Linked DNA regions of Homo sapiens: region 2 is linked to region 1. The links are contacts of gene promoters, found by promoter capture Hi-C in human tissues and cell types (Jung and others, 2019). All regions are on one chromosome and are shown on one strand. The core of a region is centred on a gene start or on the middle of the fragment in contact, and the rest is flanking DNA. Distances in the headings are between cores, read along the strand shown. Region 1 holds the start of PSG5 (pregnancy specific beta-1-glycoprotein 5). Region 2 holds the start of PSG11-AS1 (PSG11, PSG2 and PSG5 antisense RNA 1).

What was found. Contacts are between HindIII fragments. The study calls those that stand out against the background at their distance.
Region 2: a contact is called between a fragment that was not itself captured here and the fragment with the promoter of PSG5 in region 1, in 1 of the 25 tissues and cell types used here (H1 embryonic stem cells).

Annotation. Positions count from the first base shown.
Region 1 is chr19:43,184,969-43,188,683 of GRCh38, reverse strand. PSG5 (pregnancy specific beta-1-glycoprotein 5) reads left to right here and starts at 2,148. Exons shown (of 6, transcript NM_002781.4): 1 at 2,148-2,342; 2 at 3,537-3,715. The coding sequence starts at 2,279. The HindIII fragment of the contact is 15,826 bases long and covers 1-3,715 here.
Region 2 is chr19:43,151,112-43,154,826 of GRCh38, reverse strand. It overlaps PSG11-AS1 (PSG11, PSG2 and PSG5 antisense RNA 1), which reads right to left and starts at 12. Exons shown (of 5, transcript XR_007067262.1): 1 at 1-12. The HindIII fragment of the contact is 3,003 bases long and covers 572-3,574 here.

The sequences.
Region 1 (3,715 bases), core at 899-3,398:
GCATCATGACATCCAGGGACACCAGCAGGGTGTGGTACTGTGCCCTGGAGTCAGAATCCTGGGTTCTGGTCCCTGGGAGTGAGAAAATGAAAATGACTTGTCCCTGCCCCCCTGATATTGGTCTTCCCATCCTGCTGCTCCCTCTTCTGCTCCCAAGCCCAACTGCAGTGCTCAGCCCCAGACATCACTGCCCCCAGGGTATACACAGTGCTGCCTACTGCACACAAACACAAACTCACAGAAGGTGACAAAAATCTGCATTTGGGACATCTGATTGTGAAAGAGGGAGAACAGTGAACGTAGAGCCACACAGACTGGGACTCACGGGGCTGGAAGGTGAAGGAGCTGTAACATAACGTAAGTGTGACCTCGTGTGAAGTGTGCAGATCCATGTGGAATAAAACATGCAGCCTGGCCTGGGATTGCTGCCGTTCACACTTCCCTCCCTGTCCACCAGAGGACGACAGAGTCCCTCCCAGCCTGGAGCCTTCCCAGGGGATGCCAACGTCCCTCATTAGAACCCACAGCCCAGAAGGGTCCACCCTCACCAGGGTCAATTCGGCCCAAGTCCTCAGCGCCCTCCATGCTCCCCACATGGACTCTGTCAGCTCCTCTCTGACCTGGCGGCCGCCAACCTAACACCACTCCCTCTGTAGGTAGCTCCAGCCCCACACACCTGCTCCTTCCCTGGGCCCAGCTAAAGGCATCTCCCAGGGCAGCGCTGGTGCACGCGACGCCACGCTGAGCTCTTTCCCCTCGTGACCTCCCTCCATCCTCATCAACTCTTTCTGTCACTGCTCCCTAAATGCCCGCCCCTGCTCCATCTGTCCTGTTCTCTGGGGCATCCCAGGCCAAGCCTAGTGTTGACACAGAACAGTGGCTGCCTGAGGGCCCACAGCCTCCCCGGGAATAAGCCAGGCACCCTGTGTCCTGCCTGCCTGCTGCAGCCCAGGGGGCGCAGAGAGCGTGTGATGGTCACACACAGGCACCATCCGGGATGTGGCCACCTGCCACCAGCTGTCCCTTGGGAAGACAGACCTCTCTTGTGTGCTTGCGGGGAGATGAGGGGTGTTATTGCTCTTTGCTCTCAGAACACAACTCACCCCCACCCGCCCTCTCAGGTGTGAGCAACGTCCCTCCAGACAGGATCTCTGGCCAATGCCTGTTCCTCCTCTACAGAGAGCAGCTTGGCCAGGTCAAAACCCTCAGGACAGACCCCTGGGTATGTCAGCACATGGAGGGCTGAGCCCATCATGGCCACGGAGTAAGTCGGGATGAATCTCTCCAGCTCTGAACCCCTGCTCTGTCCCAGGCTCCCCCTCCTGCGTCTCAACGAGCCATGTCCCGCGGGGTTCCTGGGTAACTCCCCACTTCCTCCTGCACCACAACGGGGAAGGTGTGGTGACCCCAGGACAGTCAGCTGGGCAGAGAAGAGAGGACATCAAAGATGGTCAGGGAGAACATGAGAAACCCTGAGCTCCAGCTCAGCTGCCAGACCCCAGGGAGCCATAGAGTGATGAAGAACTGTCCTCTTGACTCTGGGACTCACAGCCCCCACTGAGCAACCAGCACAGGCCTCTCCTCCCAAGAGGCATGAGAGATTCACCCTGCACACCTCCAGGAAGGACAGTTTCCTCTGGGACACCCAGGTCCTGAAGGTCCATCCTTGGAAGCTGCAGCCAAGCTAGACACGATTAGAGAAAGGAAGGGTCCCTCTCACCAGGCAACACACAGCTCACCCACAGCACAATGGGGTGTCACTGTGACAGGGACCCGTTGCAGCTTCAGCCTCCTGCACTGAAGGGGAGAGCCAGATGGGGATGAAAGAGGGCAAAGGGCGTGAATGTGCATCCCGACCCAGAGCCATGGGGACAGCAGGAGGCTGAGGCCCAGGACTCTGCTTGCCCAACCTGCGGGGTATGTGTGTGACTGTGTGGGTCTGTGTGTGTCTCTTCTGTGTGTGTGTGTCTGCACAAAGTGTGGTTGAGGTTTGGTGAAAGAATCACTGCTGAAAAATGCAGAGGCCTCCACAATTCCCAGGGACCTGAAACACAGACAAAAGGAAAAACAGAAGGAGGGACAAGGAGGCAGGACTGAGAGAGGAGGGGACAGAGAGGTGTCCTGGGCCTGACCCCACCCATGAGCCTGAGAAGTGCTCCTGCCCTGGAGAGAGGCTCAGCACAGAAGGAGGAAGGACAGCACAGCCTACAGCCGTGCTCAGGAAGTTTCTGGATCCTAGGCTCAGCTCCACAGAGGAGAACACGCAGGCGCAGAGACCATGGGGCCCCTCTCAGCCCCTCCCTGCACACAGCACATCACCTGGAAGGGGCTCCTGCTCACAGGTGAGGAGAGAACTTCCTGGGAGAGGACAGGAGGAGGAAGAAGAGTGACTGGATTGGGTCTCCTGGAGAGGATGGGGTTCTAAAAAATAAAAGAAGCCAGCACTTTGGGAGGATGAGGTGGGTGGATTATGAGATCAGGAGTTCAAGGTCAGTCCTGCCAACACAGTGAAGCCCTGTCTCTACTAAAAATACAAAAAATTAACCAGGTATGGTGGTGTGCTCTTGGAATCCTAGCTACTCTGGAGGCTGAGGCAGGAAAATCACATGAACCCGGGAGGCAGAAGTTGCAGCGAGCCGAGATAGCACCACTGCACGCCAGCCTGGGTGACAGTACGAGACTCTGTCTCAAAAAAATAAAAAGAAAAAAAAGAAAAAAGAAAAAAAAGGAAAGAAGTCTCTGTTGGAGCCTGGATAGGGTAAAATACACCAGAGAGGGACAGAGGTCAAAACTGGAAAGTCATATTGAACCGGAATTGGTAAGAGGGCCACGACATTTTGAAAAATGATAATAATAACTATATCAGATGACACTTCTAATAAAAGTATAAGCAGGACATGAAACACTGTCCTCAGCAAAATCCTCAACAATTGGGGGAAAATAAAACACCAAGGGTGTGGAGGGCCCTGAGAACTCTCACATCTGCAGGAGTCTGCAGCCTGTTCCAGGCACTGGGGTGCAACCAAGATCACAAAAGTCCCTGTCCTCACAGAGCTCACGCTGTCATGGGGAGGAAGACAGACATGCAAAGAGATCTAGAATGTGAGGTCAGGTGTTGACAAGAACCCTGGAGGGAGCAGAGCAGGGAAAGGTCAGAAAGGGAAGACCCAGGGTCTCTGAAGGACGTGTCAGGAAAGAAGTCTAAGGATGCCCTGATGTGAGCAGGACCTGAGGGCAGTGTGGGGGGGGGGGGGTGCCGTGTGGACCCCTGGGGAAGAGGATTCCATACAAAAATGCCAAGGTCAGAAGTGTTGAAGGAATAGGGGTCACGCTGCTGACCTTGACCTAGTAGGACAGTAGGACACACACACATACACACACACAAACTAACATGCACCTTTTGTGTGTGTGTGTGTTTGTGTGTGTGTGTGTCTTCAAGGCTGAGGATTGAAGAGACCTTCTCAGGACCCAGGGCTCCATCTTTTCACCCCAATACACAGGTCTCAATATTGACTGGTGCTTTCTCCACCTCCTAGCATCACTTTTAAACTTCTGGAACCTGCCTATCACTGCTCAAGTCACGATTGAAGCCCTGCCACCCAAAGTTTCCGAGGGGAAGGATGTTCTTCTACTTGTCCACAATTTGCCTCAGAATCTTGCTGGCTACATCTGGTACAAAGGACAACTGATGGACCTCTACCATTACATTACATCA
Region 2 (3,715 bases), core at 824-3,323, 34 kb after region 1:
GCCCAGGGATAAGCCAAGAGCTGCTTCCTGAATCAAGAGTTACCTGTAGGAGGAGGCGTGGTCTTTCTCTAGAACCTCCAGTTCTGCACAGTGAATCTTTTAGAGCTTGTGAAAGGCTGCATAAAATAATACACCGGATTTGGAACATAGACACTCTTACATTTGTTAGTTTCTTTTCTTTTTCTTTTTTTTTTTTTGGTTGAGATGGAGTTTAACTCTGTCATCCAGGATGGAGTGCAGTGCTGCCATCTTGGCTCACTGCAACCTCCACTTCCTGGGTTCAAGCAATTCTCTTGCCTCAGCCTCCCGAGTAGTTGGGATTACAAGTGCCTGCCACCATGCCTGGGTAATTTTTGTATTTTTAGTTGAGACGGGGTTTCACCATATTGGCCAGGCTGGTCTCAAACTCCTAACCTCAAGTGATCCACCCGTCTCAGCCTCCAAAAGTGCTGGAATTAGAGGTGTGAGCCACCATGCCCAGCCTCATTAATTTCTTAATAGGCTCTTTCAGGAGTTATTGAGAAGAATATTTTACAATTCTAAGTGGAATATTTTAGCAGGAAGGACCATGGTTTATTTCTACGATAATTCTATTGTGGCTTAAACAGTTTCTTTTTTTATAATTTGGGGTATTCCCTCTACCACCTATTGTTGACTTTCGATCTTTGATATTTACCCTATGCAAATTCATCAACCCCTGATTTTACTTCTTCAAAGCCAGCATGAGGCTAGTCAAGCCTGGTTTCCTCTTACAGGAAGTAAGTCTTTGGCCCCATGGTATTTGTGTAACCAGGTTACAAGATTTAAAAATCTATTGCAAGTGACAGTAATTAAAAAAAAAAAAATCAAATGTGGGCTACTCTGGAAAAAGAAAGCATTGGAATGTAGACTTTATTTGTTCATTTGCAGAGACGTGAATCAGCTTATACTCGTTTGATTTCCACATTATTCATGGAGAGTCTAAAGTCAATTTCTGGGAACAAAAAACCAACTTGAAAAGCTGTTTAAATTCTATTAGTGGGACTTCCAAAGGTATAAGGGTTAAGAAAAAGAGAGGAGAAAAGAGAAAAGAGGGGTAGGGAGAAATGAAAAAGTGACACGAATGTGAGCCAGACAATGGAGATGGAGAAAAAGCAGTCAAGAGGGACAGAGGGCGCGGTGGAGGTCTGCAGGATCTGAAGATCCGCCTGTCTTCTCCGGACGCTCACCTCTTACCTGATCCCAGAAACAGACTGAGCTTTAACTCTGACCACATATTCCTCAGGGTGACGGAGAGTGGGGCCACCTGCACCCTGCCAGCCTTCCACAGCCCCTCTGCATGGGCTCTGCCCCGCACCCTACACGTGCTCTGAGGCATCCTATTGCAACAAATGACTTCCTCGGGCTTCCATTCCCTCCACCGCCTCTTTCTTCTCGCTCAAGCATCTTCAATGGTCTGGATGGGTTTCTTTGCTTCCATTTGTCACCTTCCACTCACTGGTCCTCGTCCACTTCCATCTTCCCCTTTCTCTAACATTGCTTGTACTGAGATCAGCAACATCCTCCTTTATTGCTAAACCTGCCAGGAACTCACAGGTTAGTTTTGCATCCTTTGACACTGAGGGCCATTTCTTTTCCTGGAATAATCTCTGTGAGGCAAATATACATTTTTAAAAATTTTGTTTAGCCTGTTGCAAAAAGATAAAGAGACTCTCCTCTTTTCGCTCAGAGCATTTTCTATTCATTCATTTATTCATTTATTCATTCATTCATTCATTGACAGAGTCTCCCTCTGTCACCCAGGCTGGAGTGCAGTGGTGCCATCCAAGCTTACTGCAGCCTTAACTTCCTGGGCTCAGGTGATCCTCCCTCCTTAGCCTCCTGAGTAGCTGGGACTACACGCACACCCCACTATGCCCAGCAAATTGATTATTATTATTGTGTGTGTGGAGATTGGATCTTGCTATGCAGCCTAGGCTGGACTTTGAGAGCATTTATTTTTTAGAAGAGGTAATTGAAAATTCTTTCTCTAGCCCTTGAAGATGTATGTAAAGCTTTCTAAAGCATACATAAACATCTTGCCTGCCAACCCAGAACTGTCCTCCTCAAGGCCATAGGAGACCTCTCTTTGAAAGGCAGGCATCCGGGCAGAAGGCGCCCCTGTCTCCCAGTTTCTGTGAGAAGGAAGGAACCTCAGTTCTTGGGGCATCTCACTCCCAGTTGCAAAACTACCTCCTGTCATAGATAAGAGGTTTGTTTTTCCTGTAGATAAAGCCAATTAACCACACAGAGAATCAACCCACTTACTGGGTGAATTTAGGATGAACTATGTGTGACAAATGGTGCCATTGAGTCCTTTCAACTGGAAACTAGTCACCGTCTATCTGGAGACCATGTGTGTAACGGGTTGCACCTGCTTGGCTGGATCCAAAGTGGGATTTATTTCTGACTTTGTCATCTCTCAGCAGATTGCATCACATTTTGGCTTAATGCTTAATCATAAGACAGGTTTCTTTTACGTCTACGGATGTGATGGGGGTTTCTGGGATGAGCAGAAATTTCTTTCTTAATTATATTTTTCCAGCACCCCCCACCCAACCTGCCCCACCTTCTCTGAAGCTACTTCCCCCAGGCTTTAAAGGCGGCTGCTCCCCGGGGTTCCTCCCGGGCCCTGCCTCTCCTGGTTCATCTGATCTCCCACCCTGGAGGCATCATAGCTTCCCTCCCTTCCATGTGCTGATGCCTCTCGGATCTCTAACTCTAGGCAGAAAACAGCTTCTCAGTTCCTCAGCTCAAATACCCACCTTGGGACGGGCATCTTCACCGGGACATCCCGCTGGAAACTCTCCTGGTGGAACACGGTGCATGTTCTCTGGCTGCCCTGCAGTTTTTAAATGCCACCAGTACACATGGGGAATGTTCTTCTTTCCCAAGGAGGAAGCCGGAAAGTTCATTTTCCCAGCACTCCTTGCAGGAGGGACACCGACACGGGTCCAGGCTTTCCCCATTAGGTGCTCCCGTGAAAGACTCAGGATCCTGAACAGCACCAGGAAGCAGAGGGTGCATGGCACCGATTTGCTTTTTGTTTTTGTTTTAATTTTTTCAGTGGGGATCGGGGACAGAAGCTTCTGGTGTAGAAGCTTCTGGACCCCAGGGCCAGCCTCAGCAGTGCAGGGTGCAGGGTGTGGTTTCTGCCTCCTGCGGTAGCCAGAAGGTCTTGACCAGAGCTGTCCTGTGCCTGTGGTTTGGTCCTTGCCCTGGGCCCTGTGGCCTCCAAGCTGGCTTCATGAGGGCCCTTGGAGCTTGGTGACCTTCCTACCCTGTCCTTTAACCAGTCCCTTTTCTGCTTCTTGCTGGAGTGAGCTGGGAGGTTTTTTCTGAATCTGCTCCTGTCCTGGGTTCTCCCTTAGGGAAGGGCACCCTGGGCACATGACCCCTCAGCCAGATGCCCAGCAGATGCTCTCATGCTTCCACTTTCCTTGCCCCTTTACGTCCGGTGATCACTCCTTTCTGTCCTTTCCATGTCCTACATCTCTCTCTGTTGTGTCCTGTCTTCTGCACCCTGTGGCCTCCACCTAGGTTTGCATCACCACCCATTCCTCCTTGAATGCATACAGTTGTCTCCCTGGGTCTACCTGTCTCCACAGTGGCCACCAGCATCCGAGCCAGCTTCTTCTCTGTGTCAGAGATGATCTTTTTCAGGCCTCCTCTGGCCATGGCCCTCTCCTGCTCCTCT